7 separate regions of the Homo sapiens genome follow, and all the other regions are linked to region 5. The links are contacts of gene promoters, found by promoter capture Hi-C in blood cells and fetal thymus (Javierre and others, 2016). All regions are on one chromosome and are shown on one strand. The core of a region is centred on a gene start or on the middle of the fragment in contact, and the rest is flanking DNA. Distances in the headings are between cores, read along the strand shown.

The links. The method cuts DNA at HindIII sites, captures the fragments that hold promoters and counts their contacts. A CHiCAGO score of 5 or more calls a contact.
Region 1: a fragment that was not itself captured here is called in contact with the fragment with the promoter of KRT23 in region 5 in 12 of 17 cell types (naive CD4 T cells, activated CD4 T cells, non-activated CD4 T cells and 9 more); the score reaches 11.2 in naive CD4 T cells.
Region 2: a contact is called between a fragment that was not itself captured here and the fragment with the promoter of KRT23 in region 5, in 1 of 17 cell types (M1 macrophages). The highest score is 5.8, in M1 macrophages.
Region 3: a fragment that was not itself captured here is called in contact with the fragment with the promoter of KRT23 in region 5 in 3 of 17 cell types (total CD8 T cells, naive CD4 T cells and activated CD4 T cells); the score reaches 7.9 in total CD8 T cells.
Region 4: a contact is called between a fragment that was not itself captured here and the fragment with the promoter of KRT23 in region 5, in 8 of 17 cell types (naive CD4 T cells, naive CD8 T cells, non-activated CD4 T cells and 5 more). The highest score is 10.7, in naive CD4 T cells.
Region 6: a contact is called between a fragment that was not itself captured here and the fragment with the promoter of KRT23 in region 5, in 1 of 17 cell types (total CD8 T cells). The highest score is 6.2, in total CD8 T cells.
Region 7: a contact is called between a fragment that was not itself captured here and the fragment with the promoter of KRT23 in region 5, in 10 of 17 cell types (non-activated CD4 T cells, total CD4 T cells, activated CD4 T cells and 7 more). The highest score is 14.2, in non-activated CD4 T cells.

The regions. Positions count from the first base shown.
Region 1 is chr17:41,653,784-41,657,651 of GRCh38, forward strand. It overlaps LOC124904004 (a long non-coding RNA gene), which reads right to left and starts at 1,351. Exons shown (of 2, transcript XR_007065756.1): 1 at 1-1,351. RefSeq lists enhancers at 1-465, 466-1,162. The HindIII fragment of the contact is 2,956 bases long and covers 423-3,378 here.
Region 2 is chr17:41,683,138-41,686,775 of GRCh38, forward strand. No RefSeq gene overlaps it. Among named protein-coding and RNA genes, the nearest start is that of EIF1, 3.9 kb to the right of the region's middle. The HindIII fragment of the contact is 6,365 bases long and covers 1-3,638 here.
Region 3 is chr17:41,618,377-41,622,140 of GRCh38, forward strand. KRT17 (keratin 17) reads right to left here. Exons shown (of 8, transcript NM_000422.3): 4 at 3,217-3,378; 5 at 2,590-2,715; 6 at 2,283-2,503; 7 at 2,160-2,182; 8 at 1,066-1,312. The coding sequence ends at 1,218. Among named protein-coding and RNA genes, the nearest start is that of KRT17, 4.3 kb to the right of the region's middle. The HindIII fragment of the contact is 2,565 bases long and covers 1,080-3,644 here.
Region 4 is chr17:41,560,458-41,564,071 of GRCh38, forward strand. No RefSeq gene overlaps it. Among named protein-coding and RNA genes, the nearest start is that of LINC00974, 7.8 kb to the left of the region's middle. The HindIII fragment of the contact is 7,476 bases long and covers 1-3,614 here.
Region 5 is chr17:40,935,878-40,939,447 of GRCh38, forward strand. KRT23 (keratin 23) reads right to left here and starts at 1,769. Exons shown (of 9, transcript NM_015515.5): 1 at 1,469-1,769; 2 at 331-1,076. The coding sequence starts at 726. The region is part of intron 1 of LOC107985072 (a long non-coding RNA gene); the gene reads left to right. The HindIII fragment of the contact is 1,536 bases long and covers 1,323-2,858 here.
Region 6 is chr17:41,600,336-41,603,996 of GRCh38, forward strand. No RefSeq gene overlaps it. Among named protein-coding and RNA genes, the nearest start is that of KRT16, 11 kb to the right of the region's middle. The HindIII fragment of the contact is 9,356 bases long and covers 1-3,661 here.
Region 7 is chr17:41,637,287-41,640,869 of GRCh38, forward strand. It overlaps the pseudogene KRT42P. Among named protein-coding and RNA genes, the nearest start is that of KRT17, 15 kb to the left of the region's middle. The HindIII fragment of the contact is 3,640 bases long and covers 1-3,505 here.

The sequences.
Region 1 (3,868 bases), core at 651-3,150, 720 kb after region 5:
ACTCACAGCCTCTACTCCAGGGCCCCATCTGGCACAGAGCTCCAAGCTGCTTAGGACAAAGGCATCCCTTAGAGGCTGGAGGCAGCAAACAGAACGTGTCCCTCTGCTGCTTCCTGGCCACTGCGGGGCCCTCACCACCACCTCAGCTCTCAGAACATCCTTCATTCTGCCCCCAGCATCTACTGAGCAATGACCAAGACCAAAGCTCCAAACCACAGACTGCCTGGGGCCTCGGCCTCCAGCTCTCCAACTGCAGAGGCAAGAGCAGAGTGTGAGGAGGGGGTGAGGAGTGGGCACCCCAATTGCCCTGGCCACTGTGGGAGCTTGGGCTCTAGCAGGCTGATCTCCCCCAGCCTGCACCCCACCCAGCAAGGACATGCAAGCCAAGCAGTTCCCACACCCCGTTCCTGGTGGCTGCCAGAAGCTTCCTTACAAGGCCCCAGCGCTGAGCTGGCTCAGCTGCAGGCGGGGGCCTGGGTGGGGCACAGCACACCTGGCTCAGCCAAGCCCAGACGCACCCTGCAAGTGAGGAATGCGGACGCCGCCCGGGCTGGCCCTGGGAAAGCTGCTGCCCTCGGCTCCTGCCCAGCCCTGACTCAGCCTAGGTGGGCCAGGGAAGCTGCAGCCTCAGCAGAACCAAGTCTCCCACCCCACCCTCCCCGCTGGCCTGCCTGGGATTGAACCAGGGGACAGGTCCTGGCAGGGGACTGAGAGTAGAGACAGCACCCCCTGGCCTCAGGACTTGGGGGAACAGCAGGGACTCTGTGGGACCTGCCCTTCTCCTGCACTGTCTGGAGGGTGCCAGCACAGCTCTGTCCGGGGGGGCTGCCCACAGCACATTTTCCCAGATGCCTGAGCCTCAGTTTCCTCATCCGTAAAAGGGGGCTAGTGACATTCCTGCCCACAGTGCAGGGCTGCAGTGGTGGAGGAGGTTCCCGGGAAGCATTTGAGAAGCAAACAGACCTCTTCCTAAGAAACAGAAGCGTCTGCCTAACCCCATGAGGCCAGGTGATCCCGTGCTCCATGCAGAAGAAACAGAAGCGTCTGCCCAGCCCCGTGAGGCCGGGTGGTCCCGTGCTCCATGCAGAGCAGGGTGACTCCATCATCCTCTGTCCCTGGCCCCAATACGGTTATTCCAAACTCCCCAGGACAAGGGCTGTGTCTCCCCCTCCGACTAGGCGGTCCCTGAAGGCTCGGGGCATGTCTCCCCTCAGACAAGAGGCTTCCCAGGGACAGAAACTCCATCCTCCTTGCTCCATCGCCCCACAGTCCCATGCCCTGCACTGCGGAAACCACAGGCCAGTGAAGGCCAGAAAAACTGCCCGTCCCCTCCTGGCGCCACCTTACCCCAGCCTCCCCAGGCCCTGACATCCACCTCCTTGCCCACCCAGCCAGCCCCCAAACGCGACGCTGGAGTGCCTCACGGTGCCCACCCAGACCCTGGGGATCAGGAGGCAGAGCCCCCCAGGTCTGGCGCTGGTAGAATCTCCCATCCCTCCCTGCCTGCAAAGAAAGGGCCCACTGGCCTCCCTCCCTGAGCCCTCCCACAGCTGGGCTGGCCAGAGAGAACTTTCTCCCTCTGCTCTCTTTCTCTGCTGTAGTTCAAGCACAGACCCTCTCACCCCAGCCAGCCCTTCTCCACCTTCCGGGCGCACAGTCTTAGGGGTGGAGCAGAGGCTGAGGTTGGGGGCCTCACAGTCAAAGGTGCTGAGACAACAGCCCCGCTGCCCTGTGCTCACTCAGAAGCTCCTGGGGAACTGGAGTGGAGGGGAAGGGTCCCCAAGCCCACAGGTTCTGGCTGCCCCTGCCACGTCCCCTCCCCCAGCCAGGCTTCTCCCAACTGCGGCAGGGCGTCTGGGCTCAGGTTGGGGTGCAGCGTTGGCAGGACAAACAGTCTCCAGTGTTGGGTGTTTGCCTCGGTTACCAAGGAGGGAGGTGAGGGGCCTGGCTCCCTGCCATGTTTGGGCCCCGGGCTGAAGGTGTGGGTGGCAGGGAAGGTGGAGGATTTGAGGTGGGGAGGCTCACTTCCCGCTCCCAGGGCTCGAGGGCAGGGCAAGCCAGCTGGGACTGCCAGATCCCTGGGCGGATTCAGACCTGCATCGGCCCTGCCTTTCTGCTGGCTCTGGGAAACTCAGTCAGGCAGGAGGAGACGCTGGGGGCGGGGCAGCCTCCCTTGCTGCTCAAAGCAGGGCTGTGGGCTGGAGGCTGGGCCCCGGCAAGTCAGGTACTGCCGTGGGTGTCCCAACCTTCCGGGACTGACGGCACCACGGCCTAACTCAGGCCGCCCGGGAGAGAGGCCTAGGAGCCCAGCTCTGGGCCCATGAATTTGGACAAGTCACCGCCCCTCTCTGGGCCCCAGTTTCCCCACCTATATAGTGTCAGGAGCTGGCCTGTGTAGTCCCACAGGGGCCTCCTTTGTTTTGTCCTCCCTGTCATGAGCTGGGCAGGTGGATGCTGAGGGGTTGAGGAGTTGGGCACTGAGCCGGGAGTTGTGACCCGGCCTTGAAGCCCTGGCTGGAAGGGCTCAGTACACATCCAGGCGGCCCTACTGCCCTGTCTGAGGCTGGCATGCAGTGAGTGCCCGGCTGAGTGCAGGAGCCCAGGGCTGTGGTCAGGAATGGCCGGGCCCTTTCTCCCTCTCTCAGCAATGATGAGAGCCACAGCCCAAGGAATCCCCTGCTGCCTCCTGCTCCCAGGTCTCCATCGCAGCCTCAGCATGACCGGCTCTGAGCAGGAAGTAGGGGAAGCAGGACAGAGGCTGGCCTGGCAGTCAGAGAGTGCACAGCCTGGCTCAGGAGGCTGGCAGGTCATCAGGGGCATAGAGCTGGCCCTCGTTGATGGGGCAGGGATGGCTTGGGGAGGGTGGAGACGCCGAGGCTTGAATTAGGGGGTGGGGGGTGCAGGTAGGGAAGAAAGGAAGAGGACTTGAGATTGTGACCAGGCAGTGCCACAAGGAACACAGGAGTGTGGGCCTTCCATGGGGAGGGAGGAAGGTGAGGCCAAAAGATGGCGGGGCAGGGGAAGGGACCACTTGCCTTGCAGCCCGGCCAGAGAGAGCGAGAATGAGCAGTTCCCACACCATGAAGACCTTTGCCCTGGCCCTGCTGGTGGCCCTGCTGTGCACAGAGAGACCCCAAGGTCTATGCTGCCACCAGTGCTTGGTGGCCCCAGCCTGGCACAGGCATGCCTGCCCCGCTGCCACATGCCCCTTCCCTGACAGGGTCTGCGTCTCGGGATATGAGAGACACAGGGAGTCTGGGTCCCTGTGGCATCTGGGAAAGTGAGAGTGGGGAACAGGCTCTGCCTCCTTTCCCTCCTGCCCCAAGAATGATACCATCATTTGGAATGTGGAGGTTCTGGACACCTCTATGAGTTCCAAGCTTTCTTGTTGCAAGAGAGGCCTCTGTAATGCGGGGGTCCTGGTGGCAGGCAGCACCTGGGCCCTTCCTTGGGACTCCTGCTCAGCCTGGGTCAGTTCCCCTCTGGGCCCTGCTGTGATGGCCTTTCCTGTCCCCCTTACCCCATGGCCCCCTCCTCTGTCCCCATGCATAGTGTCCTCCTCAGTTTGGGACCACTTCGGCACTGACCCTCGGGAATTCCAGTGTGGTTTTGCAGCCGCGCGTTCAGGGGAAGGATGTGGTGGGGCAGAGGCGGGGGCTTCCCTGTCAGGGGACTCTGGCACCGGGCGGGTCCCTGCGGCAGACTTGGAATCCCTGCTTGGACTCATCCTGTTACCTGGGCCCAGGGCCTTCAAACCCACATTCCCTACATCGCCACCTCCTTAAACCACCCGGCCTCAGAGCCAGGGGCCTTGCCATTTGCTGTTCTGAACCTGGAACCACAGGAAGAACACAGGCCAGGGGCAGGA
Region 2 (3,638 bases), core at 1,095-3,594, 750 kb after region 5:
CATGGTGAAACCCCATCTCTACTAAAAATACAAAAATTTGCAAGGCGTGGTGGTGGGTGCCTGTAATGCCAGCTACTTGGGAGGCTGAAGCGGGAGGATCACTTGAACCCGGAAGGCGGATGTTCCAGTGAGCCAAGATCGCACCACTACACTCCAGCCTGGGAGACAGAGTGAGATATCATCTCAAAAAAGAAAAAAAAAAAAGTTTCCCCCATGTCCCTTCCCAGCATCTACCCTAGGCAGGTTTGAAGAATTGATGTATTGCCAGCAGAACCCCAGCTGATGCCCGACCTGCACATCTCATCATTACCCTGTGCAGGCTGCAGATCAAGCTGCAACAGGCCCGGGTCTCCCTCCTTCTCCAAGTGGTAAGAACAGCAGCCTTCATTCACTGGGACCTTCTATGTGCATGGGAGCGGGGGAGGGGGAACTATTCTAGTCACTTACATACGTGGGTCGTTAAGTCCCAAATAAGGAATGCAAGAAATGTGGCATTAATTGGACTTTCTTTAAATCAAGTGAGATCCTTGCCAATTAACATCCCACTGGGCTGCTCAGAAATCCAGCCTTGGAAATGACAGGGGCTCCAGCCCTCCCCAGGATTCTCTCTCGCTCACAAGGTTTTCTAGAGCACCAGAGCTACAAGGAGCCCCTAGACCAGATCATCTATCTGCCTTGGTTACCATGGAGATGTCTATTTTCCCAGAGGGTGCAATCCCTTCCTGGAGGGAGATTCTGCTGCTTCCGTGCCACGTTGGTGGCCTTGGAGAATCTTATTGAGGTCGAGGGTCCCAAGGTGTCCTACACAGCCATGCCCTTGTCACATCCCAAGGAGATCACCATGGAGAGGTGCCCACCTCTGTCCCATCCTCATTCAGAGGGGCTCACTCCTGTCCCCTGCTGCTCTCGGAGGCTCTCTCTCTCCCTTCCCCTCTGGGAAACTGGTATAATCTATATAGTGGTTTCATAACTTTACATTTTTATCCGGCTGTACATAGTCTCCTCTTTAAATCCCCTCAACAGCCTATGAGAAGGGCATTATTGTCTCTGTCGTACAGAGGAGAAAATGCAGGCTGGGAGGGGCTAAGTCGCCCAGGCAACAAGATGGAGATGATATTCAGATACAGACACTCCAGAGCCTGTGCTTTGTACCCTGCCCTTGGCTGCCCAGGTGACAGCATCTCAAAGCCAGGAGCACACTAATAAAGAAGCCAGCATTAACAGCAGGCATGCATGCCACTTTCAAACTAATTACTCCTGCCTCCATGATTACTCCTCAGGCTCCTGGGGCTGGGGTAACCTCCCACACTGGAAGGTAGACTTCGGAAGACCCTTCTGGAAATGCTCCCAACTTGGGAAAACAGCGCTTCAGACTTCAGACCCAGGAAGAGATCACCCAGTGCTCCTTTTATGGGGCATACAACTGAAGCCAAGAGGTAAACCAGGTCACCCACAAAGCTGGTGGCAAGTCAAGAACTGAGTCTCAGGCCTGGTGCGGTGGCTCATGCTTGTAATCCCAGCACTTTGGGAGGCCGAGGTAAAGGATTACTTGAGCCTAGCAGTTCAAGACCAGCCTGGGCAACATAGTGAGACCTCATCTCTACCAAAAATTTAAAAAATTAGCTGGCTATGGTAGCACATGCCTGTAGTCCCAGCTACTCAGGAGGCTGAAACGGATCACTTGAGCCTAGGAGTTCAAGTCTGCAATAAGCTATAATGGCACCATTGCACTCCAGCCTAAGTGACAAAGCCAGACCCTGTCTCAAAAAAAAAAAAAAAAAAAGAACTGAGTCTTGGCCGGGTGTTGTGGCTCACACCTGTAATCCCAGCACTTTGGGAGGCCAAGGCGGGCGGATCATTTGAGGTCAGGAGTTCAAGACCAGCCTGGGCAATGTTGTAAAACCCCTTCTCTACCCAAAATACAAAAATTAGCTGGGCATGGTGGCACCTGCCCGTAATCTCAGTTACTTGGGAGGCTGAGGCAGAAGCATAGCTTGAACTCAGGAGGTGAAAGCTGTGGTGAGCCAAGATCGCACCACTTCACTACAGCCTGGACGACAAAGCGAGATTCTGTCTCAAAAAATATTTTAGTGTGACAAAATATTGCATGCACACTGGGAAGGACAGCTCCAATTCATTCATTCAAACTCTCTCCCAAAACCCTTTCCAGCAGAACAATGTCCGTCAGGGCAAAGTGTTGTGGGATGTCAGGGACTCCCAACAGAGGGACCCGCTGAAGCCATGGCAGAAGAACATAAATTGTGAAGATTTAATGGATATTTATTAGTTCCCCAAATTAATACTTTTATAATTTCTTACGCCTGTCTTTACTGCAATCTCTGAACATAAATTGTGAAGATTTCATGGACACTTATCACTTCCCCAATCAATACCCTTGGGATTTCCTATGCCTGTCTTTACTTTAATCTCTTAATCCTGTCATCATAAGCTGAGGAGGATGTATGTAGCCTCAGGACCGTGATGATTGCATTAACTGCACAAATTGTTTGTAGAGCTTGTGTGTTTGAACAATATGAAATCTGGGCACCTTGAAAAAAGAACAGGATAACAGCAATGTTCAGGGAACAAAGGAGATAACTTTAAACTCTGACTGCCCGTGAGCCGGGCAGAACAGAGCCATATTTCTCTTCTTTCAAAAGCAAATGGGAGAAATATCGCTGAATTCTTTTTCTCAGCAAGGAACATCCCTGAGAAAGAGGATGCGTCCCTGAGGGAGGCCTCTGAAATGGCCACTTTGGGGACAGCTGTCTTTTACGGTCATCGCTGAGGGATGAAATAAGCCCCGGTCTCCTGTAGCGCTCCCAGGCTTATTAGGACGAGGAAATTCCCGCCTAATAAATTTTGGTCAGACCGGTTGTCTGTTCTCAAACCCTGTCTCCTGATAAGATATCATCAATGACAATGTGTGTCTGAAACTTCATTAGCAATTTTAATTTCGCCCCGGTCCTGTGGTCCTGTGGTCTTGCCCTGCCTCCATTTGCCTTGTGATATCTTATTACCTTGTGAAGCACATGATCTCTGTGACCCACACCCTATTCGTACACTCCCTCCCCTTTTGAAAATCACTAATAAAAACTCGCTGGTTTTGCGGCTTGGGGGACATCATGGAACCTGCCGACATGTGATGTCTCCCCCGGACACCCAGCTTTAAAATTTCTCTCTTTTGTACTCTGTCCCTTTATTTCTCGGACCAGCCAACACTTAAGGAAAATAGAGAAGAACCTACGTGAAATGTCGGGGGTGAATTTTGCCTGATAGTAAAGGTTCCCAAGTTGGCTGACTGGGGCCTTAGCTTCTCAAAAGGGGAAGACCATGAGACTGGGATGCCCATGACCTAGCCATGGTTCCTCCTTCCTGATGTCAAGGAAACCAAACTATTAATCAAGTTTATTTAGTAAATATAGAATCAAAACAAAGTATCAGGCCAGGCACACTGGCTCCTGCCTGTAATCCCAGCACTTTAGGAGGCCAAGGCAGGGGGACTGCTTTAAGCAGTTGAGGCTGCAGTAAGCCATGATCATGCCACTGCATTCCAGCCAGTCTGGGTGACAGAGTGAGACCTTGTCTATATATATATATATATACACATACATATATATATACATATATACACAAAT
Region 3 (3,764 bases), core at 1,112-3,611, 680 kb after region 5:
CCACGAACCCCCTGCTTGAAGAAAACCAGGAAAGCAGGCCAACCCGCCTGGCAGTTTCCGGATTTACTAGAAGGAAGATTTCCAGGTGTCAGGCTCATCTCCCACAGACTGTTCCCCACAGCCACGTTTGCTGCCACCAGCAAGAGCTGGGGTTGGTCAGCTCAGAGGGTGCCGGGAGTGGCTGGAGCAGGACTGTTCCTTCTCATTTTCCCAGGAGGCAGTTTCTACCCTCCCTCACGCCACCCCTGTCCCTAGTGGGGAACCAAAGAGGACCCAGACTGCCAGGGAGAGTGGCACTGCTCCCTGGGCACAGCCACCCCATCTGCAGTGCCCCCCCACTCCACCCCGTCCCCATCCCGAGCAACAGCTGACCATGTGAGGAAGCATCCCTGAGAGAGGCCCCACCCTTTCTCCCACACCTGCCTGGGGTCCGTAGCCTTCCCTGAAAACGCCAGCCTCCCACTCACATTCCCAGGGCGGAGGCAATGGGGGCCTCTCTTGGGGATTTCCTGAGACTCACACAGGAGTCTGGGCCCCAACCACCCAGCCTGCCTCCCCCACCCACCCTCCCTTTGTGCTTATCCCAGCCCTTGCCCACCTCCTGCCCCATCTAGGGGTAGGGCACGGCCCACAGGACCGGGAGGAACAACTGATTGAGTGAGTCATCTCTGAGGATTCAGGCTCCCACACCTGAGATCTTCCCATCCGTTTATGGATGAGAAAGCAAGGCTCAGTGAGGGGAAGTGACTGCCTAACTTCTCGAGGTCACAGAGCTACTCACAGGGCAAGCAGTGGCCACCTAGGACCGCACCTGATACACCAACTCCACCCCAGGTCTAGCGCAGCCTGGACCACCCCCTGAAAATCTCCAGCCCTTGGGAGAGGCAAGCACCCCCTTCCAAACTCTCCCCAGACTTACTCTTTATGCCGGTCTAAGCTGACCCCTGACCTGCCAATCAACAACGGTGGGTCTCCAAGCACCATCTCCCCTCACCCTCACTCCTTCCCATTTCACCCTTTTGTCCCTAGTCCCCACTTCAGGGGCCAGAACAAGGACACATTTCATAGCTGAGTCAACAAGCTTTATTGTCATCAGGCAAGGAAGCATGGGGAAGGGACTGAAGCAGGGGGCTGAGGCTGGAGAGGCCGGAGACTGTGGGGCAGATGGGGCGGCTGCCTCCCTGCCTCCTGGGTGGCCGGCCGGGGTAGCTGAGTCCTCAGCGGGTGGTCTGGTGGACCTGCTCGCGGGAGGAGATGACCTTGCCATCCTGGACCTCTTCCACAATGGTACGCACCTGACGGGTGGTCACCGCTGCAGGAGAAGCAGGCAATTTAAAGTGGGTAGGGGCCAGGAGGCCCTCGCTTGCCCCCTAGCCCTCATGGACAGGAGCCGGCTCTCTCCCTCATCCTCCCCCAGGTGCTGTGAGTGCCTCCACTGGCACCTCGACATCACACTGCACACACATCCCTCCTGTCCCTGCCACCACCTCCCTTCCATCCCATCCCTCTGCCGGTGGCCCTGTGTGAGTCTTGCCTCCCCAGATGGGTTATTTGATTCTGATCCAGTGTGTCCTGCCAGGGAGGAGCCATGTAGACTCCATGAAATCCGTCTCCATTTCTCTGCAGTCTCTAGGACATAGATTTTCTACCATCTCCCCCATCAGACTGGGATCGCCAAGACAAAAACCAGGCCCCTATCTCCTCCATTAGACTAGGAACCCTAAGGCTAGGATCATATATTCTCCATCAGATTGGAATTTGGAGGACAAGGACCATGTCCCTATCTCCCATCAGGCTACAGACCCCAGAGACAGGACTGTTTTTGCTCATCCAAAAGCTGTCAAGAGCAAAGATCATGAGACCATGTTCCTATCTTCCCATCAGATGACAATCTCCAGAGCTGGGACCTGTCTCCTCCATCAGACTAGGATCTCCAAGGTAAGGACCAGTTCCCTGCCCCACCCCCATCAGACCAGACAGTGTCTCTCTCATTTGATCTTTTCCTGAGTATCAATCCTCAGTGCTAATGAGTCACTTCTCCCTGCTGAGGGACAGCCATCAACTCCTGGAGCTCCTGGGGACCCTGCCCCAGCAACGTGCAGGTGGGCTGCCTGTCCCATGCACCCAACCCCCAGGGCCGAAGCCACGCAGATACTTACGTTCTTTCTTGTACTGAGTCAGGCTGAAAGAAAAAAAAAAACAGAGAGGAAATTAGATGTGGGTCTGAGAGCCCCACCCCTGCCAAGAGACCCCCAGCCCTGACCCCAGGCGCCCCCACTCACTGGGCATCCTCTCCCTCCAGCAGGCGGCGGTAGGTGGCAATCTCCTGCTCCAGCCGCGTCTTCACATCCAGCAGGATTTTGTATTCCTGGTTCTGCTGCTCCATCTCGCAGCGAAGCTGGGCCAGCTGCTCCTCCACGCTGCCAATCAGCCCCTGGATCTGGGACAGCTGCACGCAGTAGCGGTTCTCTGTCTCCGCCAGGTTGCCCTCCAGGGATGCTTTCTGCAGGAGGGCAGGAAGACCAGGGGTCAGTGAGGATGGTCAATGCCCTCTTCTGGGCCCTCCCCCATGCACAGGACTGTTCCTACCATGCTGAGCTGGGACTGCAGCTCTATCTCCAAGGCCTGCATGGTGCGCCGGAGCTCCGAGATCTCACTCTTGCCACTCTGCACCAGCTCACTGTTGGTGGCCACCTCGCGGTTCAGTTCCTCTGTCTGCAGACAGGACACAGGACAGGGCGGTGTGAGCCTGGATCCCTCTCCCAAGTCAGGCCTCCTCCCAAATCTAACTGTGGAGAGAGTGTGCCTTCTCACCAGCTTCCCACATCCCAAAGCCCAGAAACATGCCATTTGAAATGTTAACTTTTTATGGTTAATCCCAGCGTGTGGGAGGCACAGACCGGAAACTTGAGAACAAGCCAGAACATGTAGCCTGGCTCTTGATGCTAGTTCCTGACTTCTTGAGGGAGACGTGGGGACTCCCAAGGTCTTTACCCTCTGCCTTTATTCTGAGGGAGCTCCCTACCTCCCCACCCACCCGCCAGATCCCAGCTTGAGCTCAGCTCCATGTCTGTTGATGCAGTGGGTGACCCTGTGGTCCATGCAGCTTACTGAGGAGGGGCACCTCCAAGACATCTGGCCGTGGGCTTACTGTCAGTGCTAAGGCCCCTGAGCCCCAGCCCCTAAGAGAGCCCTCTGGCCTGCAGCACCCCCCACCTTGCTGAAGAACCAATCCTCGGCATCCTTGCGGTTCTTCTCTGCCATCTTCTCATACTGGTCACGCATCTCGTTGAGGATGCGGCTCAGGTCCACGCCTGGGGCAGCGTCCATCTCCACATTGATCTCACCACCCACCTGGCCTCGCAGGGCGTTCATCTCCTATGGAAAAAGGGGATGTGGATGTGCGCATCTGGACCCATCCTGACCTCTCACTCCCAAGCCTTCCCCCACAAGGGGACCCCACTTCCCACAAGGACCCCTCCTTTGTTCTCCCTCTGCTCTATCTGACCCTCTAAATGATTTTTATTCATCTGCTCAGTATTGCCTCCACCATCAGACTCTATCTCCCCCATTAGACCAAGGACTCTCCAAAATAAAATCTAATTATTAGGCCTATGCCCCCAAAAGTTCCCCTCTAATTTCCAAGCTTCTATGTAGATGTTCAGCTTTGAGAGTTTGAAATGGGACAAGATTTCCTTACTTATCCCCCACCCTCATGAGGGAGGCAGGGTAGGTAGAGGGAGCCTCTGCAGGCCCCTGGGAGG
Region 4 (3,614 bases), core at 409-2,908, 620 kb after region 5:
ATCCAGCTTACTGGTATGGACAGCAGAAGCAGCGTGGCTCTGCAACTCCAGCTGAGTCCAGAATTAGTGCAGAATGGACTCAGAAGGCTCCAATCTGACTTGGTGGTTTCATGGTCTTGGCAGAGGCAACAACTCCTTTGGCAGATCCACTCTGCTTTGTCATTTGGAGGGTTCTGGAAAAATCACCCTAGATTCTGTTTCTCCAGCCCTCCTAATGATTCTCTAAGGTATCTAGAGCTCTTGAAAATCCCTTACTTGTTAAAATAGGCAAAGTAGTTTCTGGTAGTTGCAATTGAGAATCTAACCAATATAGAGATCAGATGACAAATGGAGTTTTAGCCCAAGTTTGCTTCTCATGAGCCCAGTGGTATCCCAGACCAATCCTGTGGTTATTTCCCAGTGTCTGGAGTGGACTAGACATAGTCAGTAAAAGGATCCTGATCCTTACCAGTAAGGATTACGTGGTTTAGAAAAAGGACCAGCAACACTACATCTCTAAGGGAATGACAGAGATTAGTGCCACATGAAAGATTTGATGGGCCAGGAGTGGTGGCTCATGCCTGTAATCCCTGCACTTTGGAAGGGCAAGATGGGGAGAGAACACAGGAATGTAAGATCAGCCCTGGCAATAGAGTGAGATCCCTGTCTCTAGTTTAAAAAAAAAAAAAAAAAAAAAAAAAACCTCAAAAATTAGTCTGGCGTGGTGGCACACGCTTGTAGTCCCAGCTACTTGGGAGCCTGAGGTAGGAGGATTGCTTGAACCTGGGAGGTCAAGGCTTCAGTGAACTGTGATTGTACCACTGCCCACCGGCCTGGGCAACAGAGAGAGACCCTGTCTCAAAAAAAAAATGATAAATTTAGGGTTAACTTGCCTAGTTTTTCTGTGCAGAACATGAACAGATGTTAGAGAATAGCCATGAATTATTTTACAATTTATCACATGGTTGTTCCAACAGCAGTCGTTGATCCAGATTGTGTCCCTTTTCTAAAGCAGATCACCATTGACCCTGGCACCTGCTGTGGGAAATTCTTTTTTCTTTATCCCAATAAACAAAGAGTACCAGAATAAATATGCTTTCACCTGCAGAGAAAGCAACACGGTCATTCCCCTTATCCATGGTTTCGCTTTCCACAGCTTCAGTTACCTGTGGTCAACTGTCATCCAAAAATATTAAATGGAAAATTCCAGAAATAAACAATTTGTCAGTTTTGAAGTGTGCTGCCCTGAAGAGCATGATGAAATCTCACACTGCCCCACTCTGTCCAGCCCAGGACAGGAATCATCCCTTTGTCCAGCTCTCCATGCTCTATGCACCACCCACCCACTAGTCGTCGCTTAGTAGCTGTCTCAGTTGTCAGATCAACTGTTGCAGTATTGCCGTGCTTGTGTTCCCTTATTTTACTTAATTACGACCCCAAAGTGCAAGAGCAGTGATGCTGATAATTCAGATTTGCCAAAGGGAAGCCACAAAGTGCTTTTTTTTTTTTCTTAAAAGGAGTTTTGCTCTTGTTTCCCAGGCTGGAGCACAATGGCGTGATCTCGGTTTACCTCAACCTCTGCCTCCCGGGTTCAAGCGATTCTCCTGCCTCAGCCTCCCAAGTACCTGAGATTACAGGCATGCGCCACCATGCCTGGCTAATTTTGTATTTTTGGAAGAGACAGTGTTTCTCCATACTGGTCAGGCTGGTCTCAAACTCCTGACCTCAGGTGATCCTCCAGCCTTGGCCTCCCAAAGTGCTGGGATCACAGGCATGAGCCACCGCGCCCAGCCAGCAAAATGCTTTCTTTAAGAGAAAAGATGACAGTTCAAAACTTACTACGGAAAGAAAAAAACCATACGCTGAGGTTGCTAAGATCTACAGTATGATAAGATATTTTGAAAGAGAGAGACCACATTCAAATAATTTTTATTACAGTATATTGTTATAACGATTCTATTTTATTAGTTATTGTTGTTAATCTCTTGGTCTGCCTAATTTATAAAGTAAACTGTATCTTAAGTATGAATGTGTAGGAAAAAGCATAGTGTAGATAGATTTAGGTGCTATCCACAGTTTTGGGCATCCAGTCAGGATCTTTGAATGTATTCCCTGTGAAATAATGAGCAACTACTGGGCATCTTTTCCAGGATGTGCAGAGAATCAAACTTGGAGGGTATGCAAACAGAAAAATTCCCCAAATCACACTCAAGGATTGCTCTAGGAACACACCACTGCTGTCACTTCTGGCCACCAAAATTGAAGCTCAAACTATGGATGATGGGCACTGCATGTCTTTGCCAGAGCCGCTGCTATTGCTTCCTCAAAAAATCACATATCTCTGCCCAACCTTGTTCCTGCCATAAAAAATTCCACTCAGCACCTCCTTTAAATCAAAATCAAAGTCCTTCACTCCAATGGGGTGCCATGGTTAAAAAAAAAAAAAAAACGTCTTGTGCGGGCGCACCTGAGTGGCAGGGCTGTCAGGGGCCCATGCCCTAGATGCAGGTGAGCTCGGAAAAGCAAGTTTCTGACCTCTCCCTTGGGGAGCTTCACACTTAAGGTGGAGAATTTCCCAAATTGAGGTAGAGAAAAGATACATAAAATGGGCCAGGCCTTGTGGCTCACACCTGTAATCCCAGCACTTTGGGAGGCCGAGGCAAGTGGATCACCTGAGATCAAGAGTTCAAGACCAGTCTGGCCAACATGGTGAAACCCCCGTCTTTACTAAAAATACAAAAATTAGCTCAGCGTGGTGGCAGGTGCCTGTAGTTCCAGCTACTCAGGAGACTGAGGCAGAAAATCGCTTGAACCCGGGAGGTAGAGGTTGGATTGAGCTGAGATCGTGCCACTGCATTTCAGCCTGGACGACAGAGTGAGACTCCGTCTCAAAAAATAATAATAATAATAAATAAAATAAATAAAAAGATATGTAAAATGGTAGATGAGGAAGACAGCAGGTAGCAGAAAAAGAACCAGAGAAGAGTAAACAGTTGCATATTAACAGCGGAGCGCTAGAAAAGAGATCACAGACTCTCACTGCTCAGGTGTCTTGCTAGAGCCACCTTTGACCCAGAGACACTGATGACCTGCCTGCTCCCATATCCACAAATTCCAGGATCTTGAATCCCCCTGGGTTTCTGTGTCACTTCATTCCCTAAGTGTACTCTTACATAACCCCTCTGCCAGTGATTTGAGCCAGCCTGTGGCAATTTGTGTTTTCCAAAAATGACCACATCAATATATCCCATTGCATATGCTGTTCTTCAACGTGACATGGACACACCTCCATCTAGAGACGGGGTCTGTATTTGCTTTCTATTTCTGCTTAACAAATTACTGCAAACTCAGCAGCTTAAAATAGCACCCATGTATTAGCTGACAGTTCCACAGGCGTAATTGGATTCTCTCTGCAGGATATCACAAGGGTGAAATCAAGATGTCAGCCAGGCTAAGCTCTCATCTGAATTCTCATCTGGGGGTAATCTGCTTCCAAATTCTTCTTTGATCTTGGAAAACTTCAGGTCTTTGCAGCTGGAGGACTGCAATCTCCTTTTTCTTGCTGGCTCTCAGCTCCTAGAGCCCATCCACATTCCTTGTTCCATGACCCCCTTTCATCTTCAACCAGCAAGGGC
Region 5 (3,570 bases), core at 519-3,018:
ACAGCAGCTGGTTGCCTCACATTTTAAAGATGTTTTTGGTCTGTGAGAAATCAGTAGTCTCATTTTTGAAACAGTCTGTAGCACTTCTATCATTTTTGCTGCCTTCTTTTTCTACATTATCCATGGACAGTAGACTAATTAAACAAAACAGACGTTTCCCACTCCAAATTTAAGATATAATAAGAAAACATCCCCCAAAACCTTTGTGCACAATTACTTCAAGCGCTGATGCCATTTTCCTGGAAATTGTCTTCTGGACTCATTTTTCCTCCCGAGGGTCCCCTGGCAAAGCAGCCCCATCTGGATCTCCAGGGTCACCCAGCATCTTACCTGCTCCTGCAGGTGTGTGATGTTTTCCTCATACTGGGAATAATCTTTCTTACTGCCAGGATCTCTCTGCTGGTGCCATTTCAGGATGCGGCTTTCCAGCTTCATGTTGGCCTCCTCCAGGGCGCGAACCTTCTCCAGGTAGGAGGCCAGGCGGTCGTTGAGATTCTGCATGGTGGCCTTCCCATTTCCGCCTAGTAGGGGGCTGCTTCTTCCAGAACCCCAAGACCCTCCAGGGGGTGGGCAGCTCCGCGTGGTGAAGGACAGGGAGATGCGGGCTCCCCCCGCACCGCCATGGACGGTGGGAGCCCTGGGGAAGCTCCTGGGCCGGCCCCAGCCACCTCCGGCGCCATGGAAGGAGGCCGAGGGGGTCTGGCTGAAGCTGTGTCCGGAGTTCATGGTCCCATCTGTGTTTGGGACGGGGCTGAGCTCTGCTCCACTCCCTGGCACCGCAGAACTGAGCCGCCCCAGACTGCCCTGGATGGTTTTATGGCCTTTGCTGTGGGAGTTCCCTTCTCTGACAATTGTACCAACAAGATTGTATCATTGTGCAACTTGTGTTTCCTCTTGGTCAATCCCAAAGTGCCCCTGGGCCTTCGCACACTGTTGTTGTTTAGAGCCACATCAATATGACAGTTTGCTTCCTCCCTTCCCCTGGTAACCCGGAGGTGTGGCCCACGACATCAGGCGGGTATTGGGCTCAGGTATCTTTCTAATCTTGCCGTGAAGTTTTTCCATTGTTCATTTACCTGGAATGGGTTAGGTTAAAGTCCACCCAAAAGAAAGCATATTCGATGTAGTATAGATTTCCTTAAAAAAAACCAAAAACCAAAACCAAAACAAAACAACAACAACAGCAACAAAAAACCAGACATTAAACAACAGAGATACACACACCTTTTTCCACCCCCAATAAGCCCCACCTCTAAAGGGAGGGTGAGCGAGCCTGGAGAAGGGAAAGCCAGCTCAGAACAGGATCTCAGGTCCCAGAATAAAGCTTGCTGTGCTGAGGCAGCCGAGAAGGTGGTGAATATCTGATGCCTTTGTGGCAGTCACTGTTTGAAGGAAAGTACTTTCAAAGGACTCGCTCTTAAGAACAAACCCTCAATTATAGATGTAATTAATTAATGAATGACCGAACCTTCCACTTCCAGGGTGCCTTTCATCCCAGCACACCTCAAAACCAAACAACCCTGGCCTGCGCTCAGGATTTCCCTTGGCCCTGGGGGAGGAATGTAGCCGTTGTTAGCAGCCCCGGACCCCGGCTGAGCCTGCCACGGCTGGGCTCTGTGTGTCTGTGACCTGCAGAGGGACGATGGAAAACAGGAAACCTGCCATGGGCTGTCAAATGTGGTTGATGAATCTTATATTTCATCTGCCAAGGTAAAGGTTAGGAATGAATAAAGAAGCAGTCTGGGGGCGGGAGCCACGTGCTAGTTACTGGCAGTTGGATTTAAAGGGGACTTACAAATAAAATATCAGCGCAGGAAGGGCTTCTGGCCTTTCTGGTTCCAAGCCACTAATTGGACAGATGAGGAAAGCTGAGGCCTATGGTGGTGGGGAGGTTAGTGGCAGAGCCAGGGCTAGATTCTTTCTCCACATAGCACTGTTATCTTGGGTTGAATCTTGACAGGTCCTGTACCACACTTCTCTTTCATAATAATAGGACTTGCCAATTGGTGTAGCTCTTTTATATTCTTTATTGAATCCTCACAACTCTTTATGTATCCAGGCAAGGGTTGTTGTCTTCATTTTGCAGACAAAGAATCAGGGTCTCATAGGGATGAATGATCCAGAGCTGATTCGCATGTACAGTGTAATTGAGCACATGAATTCATAGGTGACACTGCCCGAGTCTGTGCTGTCCTCCCTGCCTGGAAAGTCACTCACCCCTACCTCTTCTATAGTTCAAGGGCTACCTCCTTCAACAATCATTTTCTGAATTCTCCTGCATGAGTTGGGTGACCCTCTAGGAGGAAACTGCCTCTTCTGGATGCCGAGGTCCTCCAGAGGGGCAGACACCTTGGCATCCCACCTCATGGTGGAAGCTGGGAGCCCCTAGCCAGGCGCAGCCACCTCCTGTGCCTGGGATGAAGTCCACTCCGTTCTTTCACTCCATTATACTGCATTTGCCACACCCTTCTGAGACCGCAGGCTTCTTGAAAGCAGAGTTTATGTCTTCCATTTTTGAGCACCAAAGTCTGGTTTCTTGGTGGTATTTTGCAAATGTATGTTGACTCAATCATAAACTTTTTAGAGTCAGGATTTTAACACAGGTCTCCTGATGCCATCAACTTCTGCTCCTTTTAGGACTGTGAGTTATAGAACTAGAAAGTAGGAAAACGCCTCTCCTGGGTATAGATTAACCATCCATGAAGGCCAATCTTTTCCAATTACAAATAAAGCCACCCAAAAGCACACCAGCTCTGCTCCTCCCAGTCTTACAACAAAACCTTATCAGGGAAGAGTCTCTGAATATTTTTTATTTCACTGTGCACGAGCTGGAAAAATGAGCCTCCAAGCCTCAGGGAAGCTTGGAGAGTGCTTAGAAAGAGTGCCGACAGTCACTTACATCTCAGATATGAGAAAAAGACAAAAGAGACAAGTGATAAAAATAGAGCAAATGAGGGAACTAGAGAGACTTGTTTGGCGAGTGGTGGCAACCAGTGTTCTGTGGATGTGGACGGTTCCTGGTCATCAAAGTTATGGTCAGCTCTGGTTCCTGTTCGCCTGGACCCAGACTTACCAAGGAAGAAAACATTTACCTTTAGCATGTGCAAGGGCCGGGCTGCACTGCCTTTTTCTAAATTCTCTCACCAGAATCTACAATGAAATTAATGCTTCTCTAATTATTTCAGGCATGTCTGAGTGGCAGTGACTTATCAACCCCATAGATTTGGCCACTGTCTCATTTTATGTCCATGTGTGGGAGTTTTGATTTATAGGACTTATCCTTGAGCAAAAGATTTCTTGTGTCATAGCAGGACCAGGGCCAGGAAAAACTGGTGGTGAGATCTGAGAGCACTGGGGAGAAATAGTCTCTTCTAGTACTGTTATATGATGGTTTCCCATAACTTCTTTTTTTTTTTTTCTCAAGATGGAGTTTTGCTCTGTCACCCAGGCTGGAGTGCAATGGCGCAATCTTGACTCACTGCAACCTCCGCCTCCTGGGTTCAAGCGATTCTCCTGCCTCAGCCTCCCGAGTAGCTAGGATTACAGGTGCGCACCACCATGCCCAGCTAA
Region 6 (3,661 bases), core at 713-3,212, 660 kb after region 5:
CACCTGTAAAATGGGATGAGTCAGGTGTGTGGAGATAGCGAGGAGGCCTTGCAGGGAGCATGCAGGGAGAAGGCATTTGCTCCAGCTCATCTTTAGGAAGCAGAACACAGCTGCCTGTCTGCAGCCTTGCTGCCAGAATCAAATCAGGCAATAAAGGGTTGGGCAACATTAAAAATTGTCAAACAGGAGAGGGAAGCAACAAAAAATGTTTATTGGGTACATACTGTGTGTTTTATCCACCCTTTATCTCCTCTATTCCTCAAATGAACTCCTTCAGATAAATACTAATACCCTAAATGTACGGATGAGGAAAATGAAACTCACAGAGACCAGGGGCGGGTGGAGGATCCCTCCAAGTTCACGCTGGAAGTTCAGCTTCAGGTTAGCCTCTGCCCTCCCCCCAGCTATTCGACACTACCTCCTGCAAAGGACTGTGATCTGATCTTTTTAAAAAATGTTTTCTCTTGGTTATCAGTTTTAATTTGTATAGTTATATTATTATCTAAGCATAAAGTAAATTAAAAATCTATTTTATGATCACATAAAATTGACAGGCCAGAATATTAGTGCATGCAATCTGTTTCTAATTAGGAAGTCGATGTGGTATTCAACAAATTAATTGATTCTTTGGTTCTTAAATTGTTGTTTAGTTTCTTTATTCATATACACACACACACACAATTTTATGCACATGTATTAAAATGTGTGTGCACTCTTTTTGTTCCTTTCCTGTTTTTCTTGGCTCCCCTTTTCCCCTCAACCACTGCCACCCACATCAGCCTTCAACCCCACCCCCACAGTAATCTATGTTCATAACTCTGTATGTATCTTTTCATATTGTTGGTGCTTATATAATCTCACAGACACATGCACATGCATTTACATAAATGAGGGATGAGGGGTTGGCTGTTTATTTCACATAAGTGAAATCAATATCCTACATGTACATTTCTGCATTCCACATTTCTCTCTCTCCAATCCCTGGAGGAATCCCTCCTTGCCATCCAATAAATAGCTCCAATTTATTGACTATAATGGCTGCTTAATACTCCAGGGTAGCAGTGGACCATTATTTATTCCACCTGTCCACTATCAACTTTTAAAAATGTGTTTGCCACCTTCTGTCACTACAAATAAACAGCAGTAAATATCTTTGCACATATGCCTTTTTATACTGGTCTGTTATTTCTATTAATTTAAAATTAAGTGAAGTCCCTTAAATAATTTGAAAGTCATCTTTGCTGTATAATCACATATAACAAAGCTGGAAAAGAACCTGGTAGAATAAAAGGTCTGGTGACAGAACAATGGATGAGTGTTTTCATTTTCTATATTTCCTTTTGTTTCGTCACACTATTCATATGGTAGATAAAAGCTAGAGACGTATGGGATTTTTTCTGTTGTTTTTTGTTGTTGTTGTTTGAGACAGGGTCTCACTCTGTCACCCAGGCTAGAGTGCAGTGGCACACTCTCGGCTCACTGCAACCTCCACCTCCTTGATTCAAGCGATTCTCCCACCTCAGCCTCCCAAGTAGTGGGGCTATGGGCACGCACCACCACGCCTGTCTAATTTTTGTATTTTTTGGTAGAGATGGAGTTTCACCATGTTGGCCAGACTGCTCTCAAACACCTGACCTGAGGTGATCCTCCCTCCTAGGCCTCCCAAAGTGCTGGGATTACAGGCGTGAGCCACAGCACCAGGCCGACGCATGAGTTTTATGTGTAACAATCCTAACATGGTAGGAGAAAGAGGGACCCTTGCAATCAACAGTGTGTTAACTAGGGGTGAAGTCAGAAATGGCGTCTCCTGGATAGCTGCCACTATTGCTTTAACACCCCTTGATCTGCTCAAAGCCCTTCGGGGGTCTTGGACTGTTGGGGATTCCAGGATGCAGACAGCACATCAGAGGAGGGGCCAGATAAGGAGCTCCACTGCCTCATGCCTCAGTTCTGTAGATGGGGCTCCATCCCTCCAGGGCTCAAGAAGATATTTGCTTTCACATCCATGCCAGCTTGTCAATACCTACCCATGGAGACCTCCCTGTGCCAACACAATGAGAAGCACATGGAACCCAGAGAAGCCTGCCCTCAAGAAATTCTTCTGAGCAAGTTCTGTGGAGTCCTGAAAGAGCAGAGACTTCTAAACCAAACCTCCACGGCCTGACTCCACAAGTCTTTACTGAGTGTCCTTTATGGGCTGGGTACCATCCAGGGGCTGTTGGTAACTAGCAAAACAAAAGTTTCATTACTGTTTATGTTTCGGGGAGCAGACAGAAGGTCTTAAACAACAAGCTACAGCAGTGAAAAGACAAGCACAAGAAATTGCTTATCTCATACACTAGGAGGGACACTGAGCTTATTAGAGCTCTCAGAAACAATGGACCCAAAGAAAGCAGAGCTTTACAAGCATACCACTCATTCATTTACAACAGCAGATGCACTTTATGGGCTGCCATTAATTCTCACTCTAGTCATTGTTTTTGCACCTCATGCAATTATCTAAAACAATATTTGCCGAACTTTGACAGTAAGTCAAGCATAAGGAATCTGAAGGTACCTTCAAATTAGACAGATTTCAAGGAACACTGGGAGTTCTCAACCTTCTCAGCTCAGGTGCCAGGATCTTAGGAAGTGGGAAAGACCAGGCAAGAGCAAAAGGCAGTCTGATTTGGGGCTTGAATCATAGTTTGAGAAATCCAGGCAGCAAGCCATTTCCAGATGGAAATTCTGGTTCCCTTATTGAAGGGAAAACTCATATTTCTGCACAATATTGTCCTTCTGTTTAAAAGGGGCTCATGATTTGTTTCTACAAGATAACAGCAATGAAGAAGAGATAAGTGATTTCTGCTCTCCGGGAGTTTTGCTAAGTGACTGTGAGACCCCAAGAAAGTTTTTTTTTTAATTTTCCTTTAACTACTGTAAACCTGAATTTCTGCATCTGTCAGGTAGAGGCCTTTCGTGATGAGCTTTCCAAGGATCTGCTCCTGGGGGTTAGGCACTCGGAAGATACGGGTACAGACAACTTCTTTAAAATAGCACCCATGCCCAGGCTGGGCATGGTGGCTTACGCCTGTAATCCCAGCACTCTGGGAGGCCAAGGCAGGCAGATCACTTGAGGCCAGGAGTTTGAGACTAGTCTGGCCAACATGGTGAAATCCTGTCTCTACTAAAAATACAAAAAAAAAAAAAAAAAATTAGCTGAGTGTGGTGGCACACACCTGTAGTCCCAGCTACTCAGGAGGCTGAGGTATGAGAATTGCTTGAACCTGGGAAACAAAGGTTGCAGTGAGCTGAGATCGCACCATTGCATTCCAGCCTGGGTGACAGTGAGACTTTGTCTCAAAAAATAAATAAATAAATAAATAAAATAAAATAAAATAGCACCGCATGCCCAGTTGGAGGGTATTCTACATCCTCTGTTCTGACATCTCATTAATGAACAACTCATGAAAGTGTGTGCCAGCCCAGGAGTTGTTTAGTAACCCAGGCCAGGACTATGTCTCTGTGTAAGGGTCCTTCCACAACATCATCTTTAAAAGAATCAGCTGAATCAATTTACCAAAGAGGTTTTTAAAGATAATACTCACAGTTGATGAGCATGTTTTGAAATAGGCACTCCCATTCCCTGCTGGCAAGATATGCAAATTGGCACAATTTCTCT
Region 7 (3,583 bases), core at 436-2,935, 700 kb after region 5:
TTTGGGGACAGTGTCCCCTAATATCACCCCTACTATGTTGTGGGGAGGCAGAGGGCGTAGAATGATCTGGGGCCCTATGGAAAGGAGATGTTCAATAGATGCATTTTTTTTTACTTTAAATAGAGATGGGGTCTCACTATATTACCCAGGCTGGTCTCAGGCTCCTGGGCTCAAGCAGTCCTCCTGCCTCTGCCTCCCAAAGTGCTGGGATTATAGGAGTGAGTCACCACGCCCAGCCAATAGATGCATATTGATATTGACAAGGTTGACAAGGTCTGGACAGGATCAGTGGCTCACACCTGTAATCCCAACACTTTGGGAGGCCGAGGCAGGCAGATCACTTGAGGTCAGGAATTTGAGACCAGCCTGGCCAACATGGTGAAACCCCGACTCTACTGAAAATACAAAAATAAGCCAGGCGTGGTAGTACCTGTAATCCCAGGTAGTCAGGAGGCTGAGGCAGGAGAATCGCTTGAACCCGGGAGGTGGAGGTTGCAGTGAGCTGAGATCGTCCCACAGCCCTCCAGCCTGGGCAACAGAGCGAGGCTCCATCTCAAAAAAACAAAAGAAAAAACAAAAAGACAAGGTCATGCCCCGTCTGCCCAGCTGGCCTTGGCTCCTACGAGCCCCCGCAAGGATTAACTGTCAACCCTTAGGATGGTGCCCACCCCATACCCCACACCCCTGCCCAGAACCAGCGCGGGCTGTATGCAGCAGGTGCTCTGTGAGTGCTTGCTGAATTGTTAGGGTCATGGAGCCTGAGCAGTGACTGGGGAGGAGACAAGGTCCCAGGAAAGGGACATGGCCACCTACCCTTCCCCTCAAGGAAAAGGGTCAGTATCAGGTGGTCAGGGAAAGTGAGAGGCCCTGGAGCCCAGAACGGGCTCCCAGCTGAGACCTTGGCTTCGCTGATGAGGAGAGAACCCCAGAGACCCTCATTCCACCCCTAGTCCCCTGTCACTAAGACCCACTGGGGTCCTTTCCATTCACCCCTCAGACACAGAGCCCCTGTCACCTGCAGGGCCCTTGGAGGTCACAGATCTCCTGCCCCTCGCTCACCCCCAGGCACTCCCACCCCTGGCCCAGCATCGCCTGAGAAGTGCACCCTCACCCAGCCACACCTGCCGCCTCCACAGGTGGAATCCTGCTTCCTCTATTCTGTTTCCTGCCTCTATCCTGAGGCCCCAGGCGGCCCCACCCAGATCCTCCCACCCTCCACCTTCCCAGGGCCCTGGGAGATTCGGAACATTGCTGGGTGCCCTGAGCCTCTGCCCCAGTTTGAAGAGACAGAGGTAAGGGGATCCCCCAGCACCCCCTGTATACCCAGGGCTTGGCCAGGGGCTCCCCTACCCAGGGGTAAGTGGACCCAGCCTTTCTTCCCCTCTGCACCCCTCACTCACCTCTGACTGGTTTCCAGGAACTGTCAGCCTGTGGCGGATCCAAGACGTAGGATACGGACACCCAGGAACACCCCACCCTTCCAGGCAGCACATCAGCTGTCCAGGGGCCCTTCCCAAAAGAGGGCCTAGAGGACTGAATGCCTCGGATGAGGCCCAGGGCGGGAGGACAGAGCAAGGGAGGGAGGGAGGGAAGGCTGGGGACCAGTGGGAATGAGTGGGGAGGACATCACGGACAGGAAACCCAGGCCTCGGGGGTCACCCGTGGGACACCTCACTGCCTCTCACAGGGTGAAGACTCCTGTGAGAGGAGTCTTGACCAGACGGCTTCGTCCCTCTGTCCTTCCCTCTGTCTTTCCCTCCCTCTGCCCTTCCCTCCCTCTTTTTCCTCCCTCTTTTCACTTCCCCCACCGCTTCCTTGGCCTGAGAGATGCATAGGGGTGAGTGAGAGGCAGAAACTCCAGTGGGTTCCCCTTTCAGGCTCACACCCCCTCTCCACTCTGCCCTGCAGCCTGGCTGAGGGCAACCTGAGGGCCTGGGGAAATGGGAGTCAGAGACACCAAGGGGACTCCAGGCTCCTTCCCACCCTGCAGACCCCAAACCCCCAGCTGCACCTCCCTCCCCGACCCAGCTACCAGCTCGCTCCTCCCTCCCTGCGCCCTGGGGAGGCTGGTTTCTCCCTGTTGATGAGCGCTCATTCGCGCCTGCTCTGCAATGCTCTTGAGTGGCTTTCTCCAGGGGCAGATGAGGCCAGGCTCCCCAAAACAGAGACTGTGTCTCTTCCCTTAAATTGGACACTTCCTCAAGGTAGCAGCCATGTCTCCCCCTCAGATTGGGGGCTCCCTTGACATAGGAGCTCTTTCTCCCTGATGTGAAGGGGGTCTCTCAACTCCTTGTCCTGGTGTTGACCACCCAGCCCACCACAGTGTGACACACCTGACTGACCAACAAGGGAGGAGAAGCAGGGCAGGGAGCACTGAGGGAGGAGGACCAGGGCAGGGAGGACTGCTGGAGGAGGAAGAGGGGACGGAGGACTAGGTAGGTAAGACCAGCGGAAGGAGGACCAGGGGAAGGGCATGAGGAGAGGGAGGACTAGGGTAGGAAGACCAGGGGAAAGAGGACCAGGGGAGGAGGACTGGGGGAGGGAGGACCAGCAGAGGAAGGGCTATGGGAGAAGAACCAAGGGAGAGAGGACTAGGGGAGGGAGGACCAGGGAACGAGGACCAGAGCAAGCCATCATCTATCCTTTCCAAGGGCAAAACAGGAGAACAGGGCAGGAGCATTCCTTTGCAGAGGCCTGGGCTCCATGGAGTGTTCTGCCTGAGCCCCAGCCCGCCATACAGGCCTGCTTCCTCCATCCAGGAAGCTGAGCTGCCCTCCAGCCAGCCAGGAGCAAGCTCCCTCCACTAAACTCCTGCAGCACTGTGGTCCCTGCCATCTCTGCCTCAGAACCCAGGGTCCCTGGGAGCCTTGTTATTGAGTGTTTCTGGTTGACGCACTTTTTTCAGCAAAGTTTCATGGAGAGGGACCAGAGTTTCTAATCTTCACAACCACAGGGTCAGGCATTGTGTTAGCTATGATCACACTCTATGATGTCATGCAAAGAGCTCCAAGTCCAAGAACCTGGGGTCAAATCTGGACTCTTGCCCAACTTGGGCAAGTCATTTTTCTTCTTTTAGGCTCAAACCCTCCTCCTCTGCAGAATGAAAGGACTAGACTTTTTTTTTTTTTTTTGAGACGGAGTTTCACTCTTGTTGCCCAGGCTGGAGTGCAATGGCTTGATCTCGGCTCACTGCAACCTCCGCCTCCTGGGTTCAAGCGACTCTCCTGCCTCAGTCTCCAGAGTAGCTGGGATTACAAGTGCCCACCACCGCGCCCAGCTAATTTTTTCTATTTTTAGTAGAGACTGGGTTTCACCATGTTGGCCAGGCTGGTCTCAAACTCCTGACCTCAGGCGATCCACCCACCTCAGCCTCCCAAAGTGCTGGGATTATGGGTGTGAGCCACCAAGCCCAGCCAGGACTAGACTTTTGTAACAAACTCTTCATGAGATTAAATGAGTCAATATGTAGCTGTCACAGGCCTTGTAGTAACTAGTGATTCAATAAAGCTTCGGTGACTCCAAAAGCTGGCTGGGCAAAGCCTCCCTGCCATGAGAAGTCATCCTGCCCTGCCTGTGGTAGGCA